Linked DNA regions of Homo sapiens: region 1 is linked to region 2. Evidence: promoter capture Hi-C in 16 types of primary human blood cells and fetal thymus (Javierre and others, 2016). All regions are on one chromosome and are shown on one strand. Each heading gives the region's core, a stretch centred on a gene start or on the middle of the fragment in contact. The rest is flanking DNA. Distances are from core to core; before and after follow the strand shown.

Region 1 (6,262 bases), core at 491-2,990, 620 kb before region 2:
GTGTAAGGGGCCCATTGAGGTTGCACCAGAGCCCCTGTGACCCGTTTAATCATCTCCCACAGCTTCTGCACATCGAGAGAAGCAGGGGCAGCCTTTAGCTGAACTAGGTAACAGCCTAGTTCCATTGTCTGAAATCTGGGCAAACTGTGAGGTGTAGTTTACACTCCAGAACTGACCTTTGGGACCAGGCTAAGGCTGGGGCTTTGCTGAAACATTCCCTTGCTTGTCCTCCTCCCTTCCCTGTCTTACTTTCCACACTCCCTTACTGGTTTCTCCTGGGAGCATTTTTTTAATTTTTATTTTTGAGACAAGGTCTCACTTTGCCACTAAGGCTGGAGTGCAGTGGCATAATCATAGCTCACTGTAACCTCAAACTACTATGCTCAAAGGAACTTCCTGCCTCAGCTTCCTGAGTAGCTGGGACTACAGGCACACATGACCTGATCAGCTAATTTTTAAATTTTTTGTAGAGACAGGGGTCTCACTATGTTACTCAGGCTGGTCTGAAACTTCTGGCCTCAAGCAATCCTCCTGTCTTGGTCTCCCAAAGTTCTGGGATTATAGATAGGAGCCATTGCTCCCTGCTGGGAGCATCTGTTTAATAAACTACTTGCACATAAAGCCTTGTCTTAGGATCTGCTGTGGTAACCCAACCTAAGACACTTGTAACAGTGGCTTAAACAAGACTGTAGCGGGCCTCATATCGTGCCTTCGTGATCAGACTGCCTCAACATTGTAGTCCACATCCTCAACATGTGCCTTCTGAGGCCAAAGATAGCTGCTTTGTCTCCAGTCATCAGAGTCATGTTCTAGACAGCAGGAGGGAGACAAAGAAAGGAGGTGGGCATGCTCCTTCCACTTGAGAACACCTCATGGAAGTTTCATCCCTGACTTCTCTATAACCTTTTATGCAGAACATGGTCAGGTAGCCGTGCCTGGCTGCAAGGGCAGCTGGGAAATATAGCCTTTATTCTCAGTGGTCAATTGCACAGCTAACATTTTGGAATATGATTACTGTGGAAGAAGAGGAAACAGACATTAGGAGACAACTTGTAGTTTCAGTTACATGCTCCTTCTCATCTCTGCCTGTCCAGAGTCTTCCAAACCCAGTGCAAATGCCACTTTCACCTCAAATCCTTCCTTGAGCTACTAGTTAAAAGTTATCACTCCCTCATGGCACTTTGTGTGCCCTTTCCTTGTGACACCGCAGTTTTTCTACCTGGCTTGTAGTTACTTAAATATGCCTTCCCCACAGGACTGTAGACATCTTTAGAGTAGAGGGCAAGCTTCAGTGAATTTCTGAGTTGAAAATTGAAATACTACAATCCCATACTCTGGAGAGTGTGGTTTTGGAGCCCGACCAATCTGGTTCAAAGGCAAGCTTTATCTTTAAACCAGTTATACAACATTCATTTGCTTATTCTACAAATATTTATTGGTGCTTCCCCTCTGTCGGGCACTATTACAGGTGCTGGAAACTTGGTGGAGAACAATACAAATAAGCACCCCACTCCCATGAAGGTCATAAAGGATGAGGGTTAAGAGCACAGATTCGGCCAGGCACGGTGGCTCATGCCTGTAATCCCAGCACTTTGGGAGGCCAAGGTGGGCAGATCACCTGAGATCAGGAATTCGAGACCAGCCTGGCCAATGTGGTGAAACCCTGTCTCTACTAAAAGTACAAAAATTAGCTGGGCGTGGTAGCACACGCCTGTAATCCCAGCTATTCAGTAGGCTGAGGCAGGAGAATTGCTTGAACCCGGCAGGTGGAGGTTGCAGTGAGCCGAGATCACGCCACTGCACTCCAGCTTGGGCGATAAGAGCGAGACTCCGTCTCAAAAAAAAAAAAAAAAAAAAAAGAGCACAGACTCCATAGCCAGACTGCCTGGGCTTGCATCCCAGCTTCACGACTTACAAGCTGTGTGACCATAGATAAGTTACCTTGCCTCTCTGTTGCTCAGTTTTATCTTCTGAAACACAGAGATGTTCAGAGTGCAACTTTTCAGGATAGTGGTGGAGACTAAGTGAGTTTACACATATAAAGTACTTAGAACAGTGCCTGGCACAAAATAAGGACTACGTAAGTGTTAGTTATTAGTATAAGCTTGCAGAGCTTACATTCCAGTAGGTGAGGAAATAACCTAAACAAACAAACAAAAAATATTAGGCAGGTGATAAGTGCCATGAAGAAAATAAAAGAGAAAAGTGGGAGAGAGCGCTGCTGAGGATCTGTCTCATACCAGGTGAACAGGGAATGTCTCTATGAGGGTTGACATTTAACAGCAATGAAGTGTTTGTGGGAAGAGCTTTCAAGGGCCAGCAGATACAGGGACTGTGAAGGCAGGCCTGACCTGGCCGGCTGGAGGCTGAAGCACGCAGGTGGAGGGGAAAGTGCAGTAGGATGGTCTGGGAAGAGCTTGGGGCCAGACACCGTGGGGGCTCTGTAAGTTGGGGAAATAATTTGGATTTGATTCTTAGTACAATGGCAAGCCATTGCAGAGTTTTAAGCAGTGGAGACTGATGTTTAAAATGCTAATGCTGTCTGCAGGTGGAAAGAGAATAGCTTGTGAGAGTGTATGAGTGGAATGAAGTGGTCAGATGAGAGAGCGCGGCGGAGATGGAGAGAAGCGGAGAACTTGATGCATATTTTGGAGGCAAAATCAACAAGATTGGCTGATGGATTAAAAGCAGAAGGTAAGGTGAAGAGAAAACTCAAGGGACACTCAAATTTTTGGCTAGAACACTTTTCGGAGATGGGGAGATGTAGAGAGAGAGGTGGGTGGGAATCAAGAATTCTACTTTGGTTACATTCAGTTGGGCAAATCACTTCAGCTCTCTAGGCTTCAGTTTCCTTATCTAGAGTAGGAAAATAATAATAATAATGTCCTCTTCTGTGGACAGAAGAGCACTGTGGTTAAGGGAAGAGAAGCCTGGGCTGTTTACTAGCTATGTGACCATGTGCCAATTACATTATCTCTCTGTGTCTCAGTTTCCTCATCTGTAAAATCAGAACAATCCTAGTACCTATCTCAAATGGTTGTTATGAAGAGTAAAAGATTTAATATTTACAAAGTGCCTAAAATAGTTTCTGGCACATGGTAAAGCTACAGTAGAATCATAGATATATAAAAACAAATAGGGTAGGCCGGGTGTGGTGGCTCATGCCTGTAATCCCAGCACCTTCAGAGGCTGAGGTGGGAGATTGCATGAGGCCAGGAATTCGAGATTAGCTTGGGCAACATAGCAAGACCCTGTCTCTACAGAAACTTAAAAAATTAGCCAGTTGTGGTGGTGCACGCCCATAGTCCTAGCTACTTGGGAGGCTGAGGCAGAATTGCTTGAACCCAGGAATTCGAGGTTGCACTGAGCTATGATCATGCCATTGCGCTCTAGCCTGGGTGACAGAGCGAGACCTCATCTCAAAATGCAAACAAAAACAAATAGGGTAGAATTGAACCTTGTATTAGATAAGTGGCTCACCTCCACAAGCTAATCATTAACCATTGTTAAACAAAGAAAGAAAGAAACACTTGTCCCCTCTGGAATATACTAGAGAGATCTGCCCAATTCCACATAATCTCTTCCAGAAAATGGAAGAGGAGGGAATATTTCCCAATTCATTTTATAAAACTTGTTTTATGCTGATATTAAAACCAAATAAAGACAGTACAAAAAAAGAAAAAGGAAAGCTACAGTCCTATATCCCTCATAAATGTAGATGCAGAAACCCTTAACAAAATATTAGCAAATAGAATTCAGCAGTTTATAAAAAGCAGTATATACCATGACCAATCATGCAAGTCTCATTCAATATTCAAAAATCAGTCCATGCAATTTACCATACTAACAGGCTATTTTTTCTTCTAAATGTTTTATAGTTTTATGTTTCACCTTTAAGTCTGTGTTCCGTTTTGAGTTAGTTTCTGTGTAATGTGTGAGGTTTATGGGGAGGCTGACTTAATCAACACTCCTGATACTGGAACCCAGGAGGGAGTAAAGGGAGAGGGAAGGCAGGAAGGAGCACAGGGGGTGGAGGAGAGTCCTGGGGATGTTCTGTGTTTTATATTGTGAAATGAACACCTTACCAATTCCTAGAAAAATAAAATAACGTATGACTTGGCAACAGTTTGTTGAATCAATAGCTAGGATTTACAGACAGAATATATCCTCAGGAAAGAAGGGGATGGGGGGAAAGGCTCCTGAAGGTCCTTGGCATGCAGACTTGGAGGACATACCATCAATCTTTCCATGAATTAACCTCTAGTTTCCAGGAGCCTGAGCTGTACTCACCTGGTGAGGGCTTGGGGGTGGATAGGAATTGACAGACCCTTGTTTATGTATAGTGTCCCAGAGGAAGAAACTGGAGCTCTTTGCCTGCTGACAGGGGATGGTGGGAAGTGGGTGGCTGTGTGGGAGTGCTCTCTGGGTCATTTTCCTCAGGGCAGGGTGATGGGGATCTGGGGGAAGCTCTGTCCGGGGGCTTGGCTATTTGTCCTGCTCTGCATGGGAATGCCCAGGCAGTCCCAGATGCCCCTAGGGCAATCTCGAACCTACTGCTCTGCCCCTCTGTTGCCAAGTGGGCAACTCAGACCTGGGAGGTTAAGGGTGGGAAGGCATTATAGGGGAGAGGGTCATTTGGGTTCAGGAAGGTGGGCAGGTACAGGTTAGGAAACAGATTAAAGGCTTAGTGAAAATGGGAGGCCCTCTAAATGAGTCCCTGGGAGTTTGGGAGTGATGGCGCCAGATTCCCTTCTCTCATCTTTTGTAGGGCAACAGACTGCCTCATCTTGCCATCCTATACCACCCAAGGGGTGTGAGAGCCAGGGTGGGACATACAGGTGATACAAATAATTTGATGAGTGATTGTGTCATTGAAAAGTGGCAGCCCCCAGGATTTCTTTCACTGACTTTCTATCCAGCAGGCCTTCAGTGATGTCAATGTATAAAGTTTTATTATCTCTCAGCCTTTGTGTGGGCTTCTCCAGCTAACGCGATACAATAACTTACCCTGGCCTTCTCCCAGCTCTGGCATGGGGTGGCCAGAAGTATTTGGGGCCAGACATGTAACATATGGGAAAGGAAAGGAGAAAGGGCTGGCTGCGGTGGCTCACGCCTGTAATCCCAGCACTTTGAGAGGCTGAGGTGGGTGGATCACATGAGGTTAGGAGTTCAAAACCAGCCTGGCCAACATGGTGAAACCCCATCTCCACTAAAAATAAAAAATTAGCCTGGTGTGGTGGCAGACACCTGTAATCCCAGCTACTCAGGAGGCTGAGACAGGAAAATCGCTTAAACCTGGGAAGCAGAGGTTGCAGTGAGCTGAGATTGTGCCACTGCACTCCAGCCTGGGCAACAGAGAAAAACTCCGTCTCAAAAAAAAAAAAAAAAAAAAAAAGAGGAGAGAGAGAGTTATCATCCTATCACTGCTTGCTATGTTCCAGGTATGCTGCTAGGTGCTTCACAGGTACAAACCACTGCAACTCATTGGAAGATCTCATTGGAAGAATCAGGCAGTTGTCAAGTTCATGATGGCAGATACAAATTTTTCACAATTCTTAGTTTCGCTGGAAAGTTCAAATTTTATTACTGGCAGCAAATATCGTCAACTAATTTTCTTGAAGTGAGATTCTCTTTGCATTTCTAAGAAAGTGCCTGCAAAATACTCAGACCTGAATAATCATAGTTTGTCATTCTTTCCACTAAAAATCGTGTTTCATAAAAAATATACACAGTTCAGCTATCTTGCATGGTTGCACGAGTACTGTTTCTTGAGATACCATTGTTCTTTAGTATGCAGCAGAAACGTTTAATGTATACTTCCCATTTCTTCACAAAGATTGTTGAAAAGACATGTTCTCTTGAATCAAGATTTAAGAAAATAACTGGAAGTGAAACTGGCTTTTCCCCCTCATTGCAAGTGTGTGGCATTAGGGAATAGAATGACGACTGGGACAGTTTGGTGCCACTGCTTTGATTTGTGCTAAATGCCAGCAGTTTTACCCACCATTGCTTTTGTGTCATCGAAGAAAATATCAGAACTGTTGTTCTAGAAAAAACCATGAAAATAAAAAAAGTCAGCACTGAAAATTTTACCACCCTTTGTGTTTTTTTTTTTTTTTTTTTTGCCAAGTATTCCCATAAAAGAAAATGATTAGTTGGTGCTGACACTGGAGGAATACAAGAAAACAGCAAGTCTCCATGTGTGAGGCAAAAGTGCAATTATGTAGACAAGAGGTTAACTCAGTCTTCATGTTTGCAGCTA
Region 2 (6,056 bases), core at 3,557-6,056:
GATCTTATAAAAGGACCACGTAATTTTAAATGACTCTAAAGAATTGTATTCCAGACACCTGAATGATTGATGGGATTAATACACGAGATGGGTATTGGGATATGGCTTATGACAGAAGATGATGCATTTAATTTTAGAACCATAGAGACAAGGTAACAAGATTTAAATCAGGAAGAATTTAATTGTAAAATCTTATAGAAAAATATGGAAGAAGTCAGCTACACAGAGACAGCAGTTGAAAATGAATCATTCGGCTGGGCATGGTGGCTCACGCCTGTAATCCCAGCACTTCGGGAGGCCAAGGCAGGTGGATCACTTGAGCTCAGGAGTTCAAGACCAGCCTGGGCAACATGGTGAAACCCCACCTCTACTAAAAATACAGAAAATCAGCCAGGTGTGGTGGCATGTACCTGTAGTCCCAGCTACTTGGGAGGCTGAGTTGGGAGGATCCCTTGAGCCTGGGAGGTGGAGGTTGCAGTGAGCCGAGATCATACCACTGCACTCCAGCCTGGGTGACAGAGTAAGAATGTCTCAAAACAAAAACAAAATGAGGCCAGGCGCGGTGGCTCATGCCTGTAATCCCAGCACTTTGGGAGGCTGAGGTGGGTGGATCACCTCAGGTCAGGCGTTCAAGACCAGCCTGGCAAACATGGCGAAACCCCGTCTCTACTAAAATACAAAAGTTAGCCGGGTATGGTGGTGGGCACTTGTAGTCCCAGCTACTTGGGAGGCTGAGGCAGGAGCATCGCTTGAACCCAAGAGGCGGAGGTTGCAATGAGCCAAGATCGTGCCACTGTACTCCAGCCTGGGCGACAGAGTGAGACTCCATCTCAAAAGCAAAACAAAACAAAAATAATAATAATTCAAAAAGGGGTCAGATATGGTAGCTCACGGCTGTAATCCCAGCACTTTAGGAAGATGAGGTGGGAAGATCACTTGACCCCAGAAGTTTTAGACTAGCGTGGGCAACACGATGAGACCGCATCTCTACAAAAAAATAAAACAATTGGCTGGGTATGGTGGTAGCACACGCCTGTAGTCCCAGCTACTCAGGAGGCTCAGATGGGAGAATTGCTTGGGCCTGAGAGGTCGAGGCTGCAGTAAGCTGTGATGGCACCACTGCACCCTAAGCCTGGGCGACAGAGTGAGAACCTGTCTCAAAAAAAAAAAAAAAAAAAAAAAGGAACTGTAATAAAAAATGTCACTTATATGGTAATTAACAGCTCTTTTTTTTCTTTTTTAAATTAATATTTTCTTCAGATCAGATTAACAGCTATCTCATGTGTAACTACTTTCCTATGTATTTAATTAAGAAATGCAACAAACAAGAGGGGATGGGGCGAGAGGGGGAGATAGAGAGAGATGGGGCACAGAGGCCTGTTTGAAGGCAGAAGGGTGTTGCAGGAAAGAAGACTGGCAATTTTAGAGAAGTACCACATAAATATGGATTCAAAGAAACAGAAAAAATCTAGAATCTTGCTATTCAAAGTGTAGCTCTCAGACATTCAATATCACCTGGGAGTTTGTGAGAAATGCAGAAACCTGTGCCCCACCTTAGACCCACAGAATCATAATCAGCATTTTAGCAAGACCACAGGTGATAGGACACTGTATTTTCAAGTTTCCACACACAGCATTGATTTTTTTGTTCAAACAGTTATTTTATTTATTTATTTTTTGAGACAGTCTCACTCTGTTGCCCAGGCTGGAGTGCAATGGCACGATCTTGGCTCACTGCAACCTCTGCCTCCCAGGTTCAAGCAATTCTCCTGCCTCACCCTGTCAAGTGGCTGGGACTACAGGTGTGTGCCACCACACTCGGCTAATTTTTGTATTTTTAGTAGAGACGGGGTTTCACCATGTTGGCCAGGCTGGTCTTGAACTCCTGACCTCGTGATCCGCCCGCCTTGGCCTCCCAAAGTGCTGGGATTACAGGCGTGAGCCACCACGCCTGGCCTTTCAAACAGTACTTTTTAAACTGCAGGTCTCAACCCATCAGTGGGCAGGTCTCAACCCATCAGTGGGTTATGAAATCAACTTAGAATTGAAAGTCTGAGAGCATATCACAAATAGCAAAGTTTTTGTGCCTTATGGGTTGTGACATAAAATTTCTTAATGTGGAGTGAAATTTTCAAAAAGTGTACAAAACACTTAGCATTAGTAACTTAACTTCTTTGGACCTAGTGGACATGAGAACCCATATGCATTGAAAAGCCAACAGAAGTATTCAACAGGCCGGGCGCGGTGGCTCATGACTGTAATCTCAACACTTTAGGCGGAGGTGAGCGGATCACTAGGTCAAGAGATCGATACCATCCTGGCCAACCTGGTGAAACCCCGTTTCTACTAAAAATACAAAAATTAGCTGGGCGTGGTGGCACACCCTGTAGTCCCAGCTAGTCAGGAAGCTGAGGCAGGAGAATCGCTTGAACCCGGGAGGCGGAGGTTGCAGTGAGCCGACATTGCGCCACTGCACTCCAGCCTGGTGACAGAGGGAGACTCCGTCTCAAATAAAAATATTCAACAGTTAGTGTTTCTCAAGATTTTGACAGTGATCCATTCTAAAAATTAGTATGAACTAGTAACACCCCCTGTGTAATATACATATAAAATAAAATAAAAAATTTCAGGCCTGGCAACAGAGTGAGACTCTGTCTCAAAAAAAAAAAAAAAAAAAAAAAAAAAGGCCAGGCACGGGGGAGGGTGGCTCACACCTGTAATCCCAGCACTTTGGGAGGCAGAGGCGGGCGGATCACGAGGTCAGGAGATCGAGACCATCCTGGCTAACATGGTGAAACCCTGTCTCTACTAAAAATACAAAAAAATTAGCTGGGCGTGGTGGCAGGCGCCTGTAGTCCCAGCTACTCGGGAGGCTGAGGCAGGAGAATGGCATGAACCCGGGAGGCGAAGCTTGCAGTGAGCCGAGATGGCGCCACTGCACTCCAGCCTGGGCGACAGAGCGAGACTCTGTCTCAAAAAAAAAAAAAAAAAAAATCATAAAACAATATCCTTACCTAGCACTATATTATTTCCTATTTTCTCCCCCTCTCTCTTTCTTTTTTTTTTTTGCAGGGGGAGATGGAGTTTCACTCTTGTCGCCCAGGCTGGAGTGCAATGGCGCCATCTCAGCTCACTGCAATCTCCGCCTCCCAGGTTCAAGGGATTCTCCTGCCTTAGCCTCCGAGTAGCTGGGATTATAGGCGCCCACCACCACGCCCGGCTAGTTTTTGTATTGTTAGTAGAGGCGGGGTTTCACCATGTTGGCCAGGCTGGTCTTGAACTCCTCACCTTAGGTGATCCACCCACCTCGGCCTCCCAAAGTGCTGGGATTACAGGCGTGAGCCACTGGGCCCGGCCTTTTTTTTCAGGCAGGGTCTGGAGTGCAGTGGTGCCATCACTGCTCACCGCGGCTTCGACATCCCAGGATCAATCAATCCTCCCATCTCGGCCTCCCGAATAGCTGGGCCTACAGGCATGCGCCCAGACCCTTGGCTAATTTTTTGAATTTATTGTACAGGCAGGGTTTCGCCATGTTGCCCAGGATGGTCTCCAACTCCTGGGCTCAAGCGATCGGCCTGCCTCGGCCTTCCAAAGTGCTGGGATTACAGGCGTGAGCCACCGCGCCCAGCCTATTTTCTCTTTTTAATGGCGCCAGTGACCCATTCACCTATTAAATTGATGTTACGACTCTTATATAGGCCGCTACTCAACGTTAAAAAAAATCATCTTTAACATACTATTTTAATACTAGACCTCAAATCTTAGCTAAGAAGTAGTTTGGAAGGACTGGGGAAGAGAAGGTTAAGAATGACTATTATGTACGGTAAATATGCTAAGAAGCTGATGAAATAACGATAGATTTACTTAGCTACAAAAAGGCCAAACTAGCATTAGACTTCACTTGTCAGCAGTTTTGTTTTTTTGAGGGGGGCGTGGGGGGGGGGGTCTCTGTCTGTCTGAAGGCACAAAAGAGGAAACAGCAGATAGGACTAACGAGGGCTGGAAATTGGTGAAGAACCACCACGGGAGTTGAGAGATGCAGATGAAGGAAACCATGGCTAGTAGCAAGAACTAGGGCAGCGGTAACTAACCTGCCTCAGCCAAGGAAGTGAGGCTGGTCCAGGATGCCAGGCTCAGAAAGGCAGGTACTGACTGAACACACTCCCCGCTTTGGTTCCTGTAGGACGGGTGAGATACCACACCTTGGCAACCACCAGTAAAGGCTCATAGTCTAGCCCTTGGGAGGCCCCGATTTTAGGGCTGTGCTCGGAGGCGACCTACGTTAGGGACTGGGAGAAGCAGGTACCCTGGGAATGAAGAATGGAGAGCAGCGCTTACTCCAAGAATCTGAGAGACGGGGGAGTCAAGCCGCTGCTAGGCCTTCTCTATGACTGCGGGGGTTCGAATACAGTGAGACCCGACAAAAGCGACCCCATTCTGGGTGATAGCACAGTCCTGGCAAAAAAGCAGGCATGGCAAAATACCCCAGGGTCGTCAGGTGGGACCTGGGCCCCGCTCTCAAAGCCCTTCTGGGTCCCCCTATTTCCCACCACCCCTCGCGCGGAGCCCTGAGGCAGTCAGCGTCCTCCAGGCTAGGGAAAGGCGTGGTTTTCCTTCCCCACGTCTCCCGTAAGGCACTGCTGCCAGCCCAGTACTACTGCGTCTTGGCAAGGCTGGAGGTGCTCCCACCTTCACTTTAATTAGCATCTTCTTTCCAGTTTGGGGCTGCACACGGATAAATTGCTGCTCCTACCGCTCCGGTCGCCGCTGCCGCCCTCCAGCACTCTTGCCTGCAAGGGCCACTTCTACTTCCGGGTCACTGTCTGGCTCCACCCCCCCCCCCCCCCCCACTGGGTTCCGGAAAGGCTCAGGGTTGCTCCCGCGTTTCGGTTCAGTGACGTCGTAAATTGGAATGAGGCATCCAGTTTAGCAACAGCAGAGATGACGACTCTGCGATTCTGAGAGTCCCTGGCGAGCCCGGGCTAGCGAAAAGTGGGGGCAGAACGAACTACATCTCCCATCGTGCCAGGAGGCGGTCCCGCCCGTTTCCCCCTGGGAGTTGTAGTCTAACCCCCTCGGATCCAACAGCAACCTCAGTGCGTGAACTCTGTTATCCAGAAGGCCTCGCCCTGCCGCCGCCGAAGCTGGAATTCGTCGGCTAGTAGTTCTCGCCGGCAACTAGAGGAACCTGTTGGCGTGGCCCAGAAGGCTTAGCGGGATTGCACGAGGTTAGTTGCTAAGCAAGGTGGTCTTTGGTCAACTGCCGCCTGGACCAAGGCAACAGGAAGTGAGTACCTCTATTCCGGAAACTAGTTATGAACCCTCCCCGCCCCCCGTCGCCAACATTCCTTCGTTCCCCTAAATCAGCCTCTTGCCCCATTGCTCTTTGCAGGGGTAGAAGAAGGAAGTGTAGCGGGGTAAGGAATGCACCGTCAGGGTCTCTCACAACCCTTTCCCAGCTCTCCTCCCCAACAAACAGTACCTGGGATGGAGCCCTAGGGTAATCGCAGCCACGGGATGGGTCGAGGTGACAGGCTTCAGGGACCACACTTCGGCCTTTGCCCGACCTTCCACAACTTAAGCGAAGAGAGGCCACCAGCCGTAACAGGGCGTTAAAGCCCAGGGGAAGATTGGTCCTTATGACTTCCTGCCTTCCAGCCCTCAGATTCATCGCTACCCCGAGGCTAAGCGCCATGCCTCATATTGACAACGATGTGAAACTGGACTTCAAGGATGTCCTTTTGAGGCCCAAACGCAGTACCCTTAAGTCTCGAAGTGAGGTGAGCAAGCTTCTCTACTTGCTGTTTCTTGACCCCACGCTCCCGGTGGGCCACAACCAAGAAAGATGCCTGTCCTTGTCCTAATATGGTACGTTTTTTGGATTAATGAAATGGTCAATTTCCTGTTCATATCTGCAGGTGGATCTCACAAGATCCTTTTCATTTCGGAACTCAAAGCAGACATACTCTGGGGTTCCCATCATTGCTGCCAATATGGATACTGTGGGCACCTTTGAGATGGCCAAGGTTCTCTGTAAGGTAGGGCTTTCCTCATGC

What was found. Contacts are between HindIII fragments. The CHiCAGO score rates a contact against its expected background, and 5 or more counts as called.
Region 1: a fragment that was not itself captured here is called in contact with the fragment with the promoter of NEDD8 in region 2 in 1 of 17 cell types (non-activated CD4 T cells); the score reaches 5.2 in non-activated CD4 T cells.

The regions. Positions count from the first base shown.
Region 1 is chr14:23,610,167-23,616,428 of GRCh38, forward strand. No RefSeq gene overlaps it. Among named protein-coding and RNA genes, the nearest start is that of DHRS2, 23 kb to the right of the region's middle. The HindIII fragment of the contact is 723 bases long and covers 1,380-2,102 here.
Region 2 is chr14:24,227,561-24,233,616 of GRCh38, forward strand. NEDD8 (NEDD8 ubiquitin like modifier) reads right to left here and starts at 4,807. Exons shown (of 4, transcript NM_006156.3): 1 at 4,690-4,807. The coding sequence starts at 4,707. NEDD8-MDP1 (NEDD8-MDP1 readthrough) reads right to left here and starts at 4,807. Exons shown (of 7, transcript NM_001199823.3): 1 at 4,690-4,807. The coding sequence starts at 4,707. It overlaps GMPR2 (guanosine monophosphate reductase 2), which reads left to right and starts at 5,369. Exons shown (of 10, transcript NM_001002002.3): 1 at 5,369-5,417; 2 at 5,659-5,780; 3 at 5,919-6,038. The coding sequence starts at 5,694. RefSeq lists enhancers at 4,671-5,536, 4,703-4,997. The HindIII fragment of the contact is 2,879 bases long and covers 2,909-5,787 here.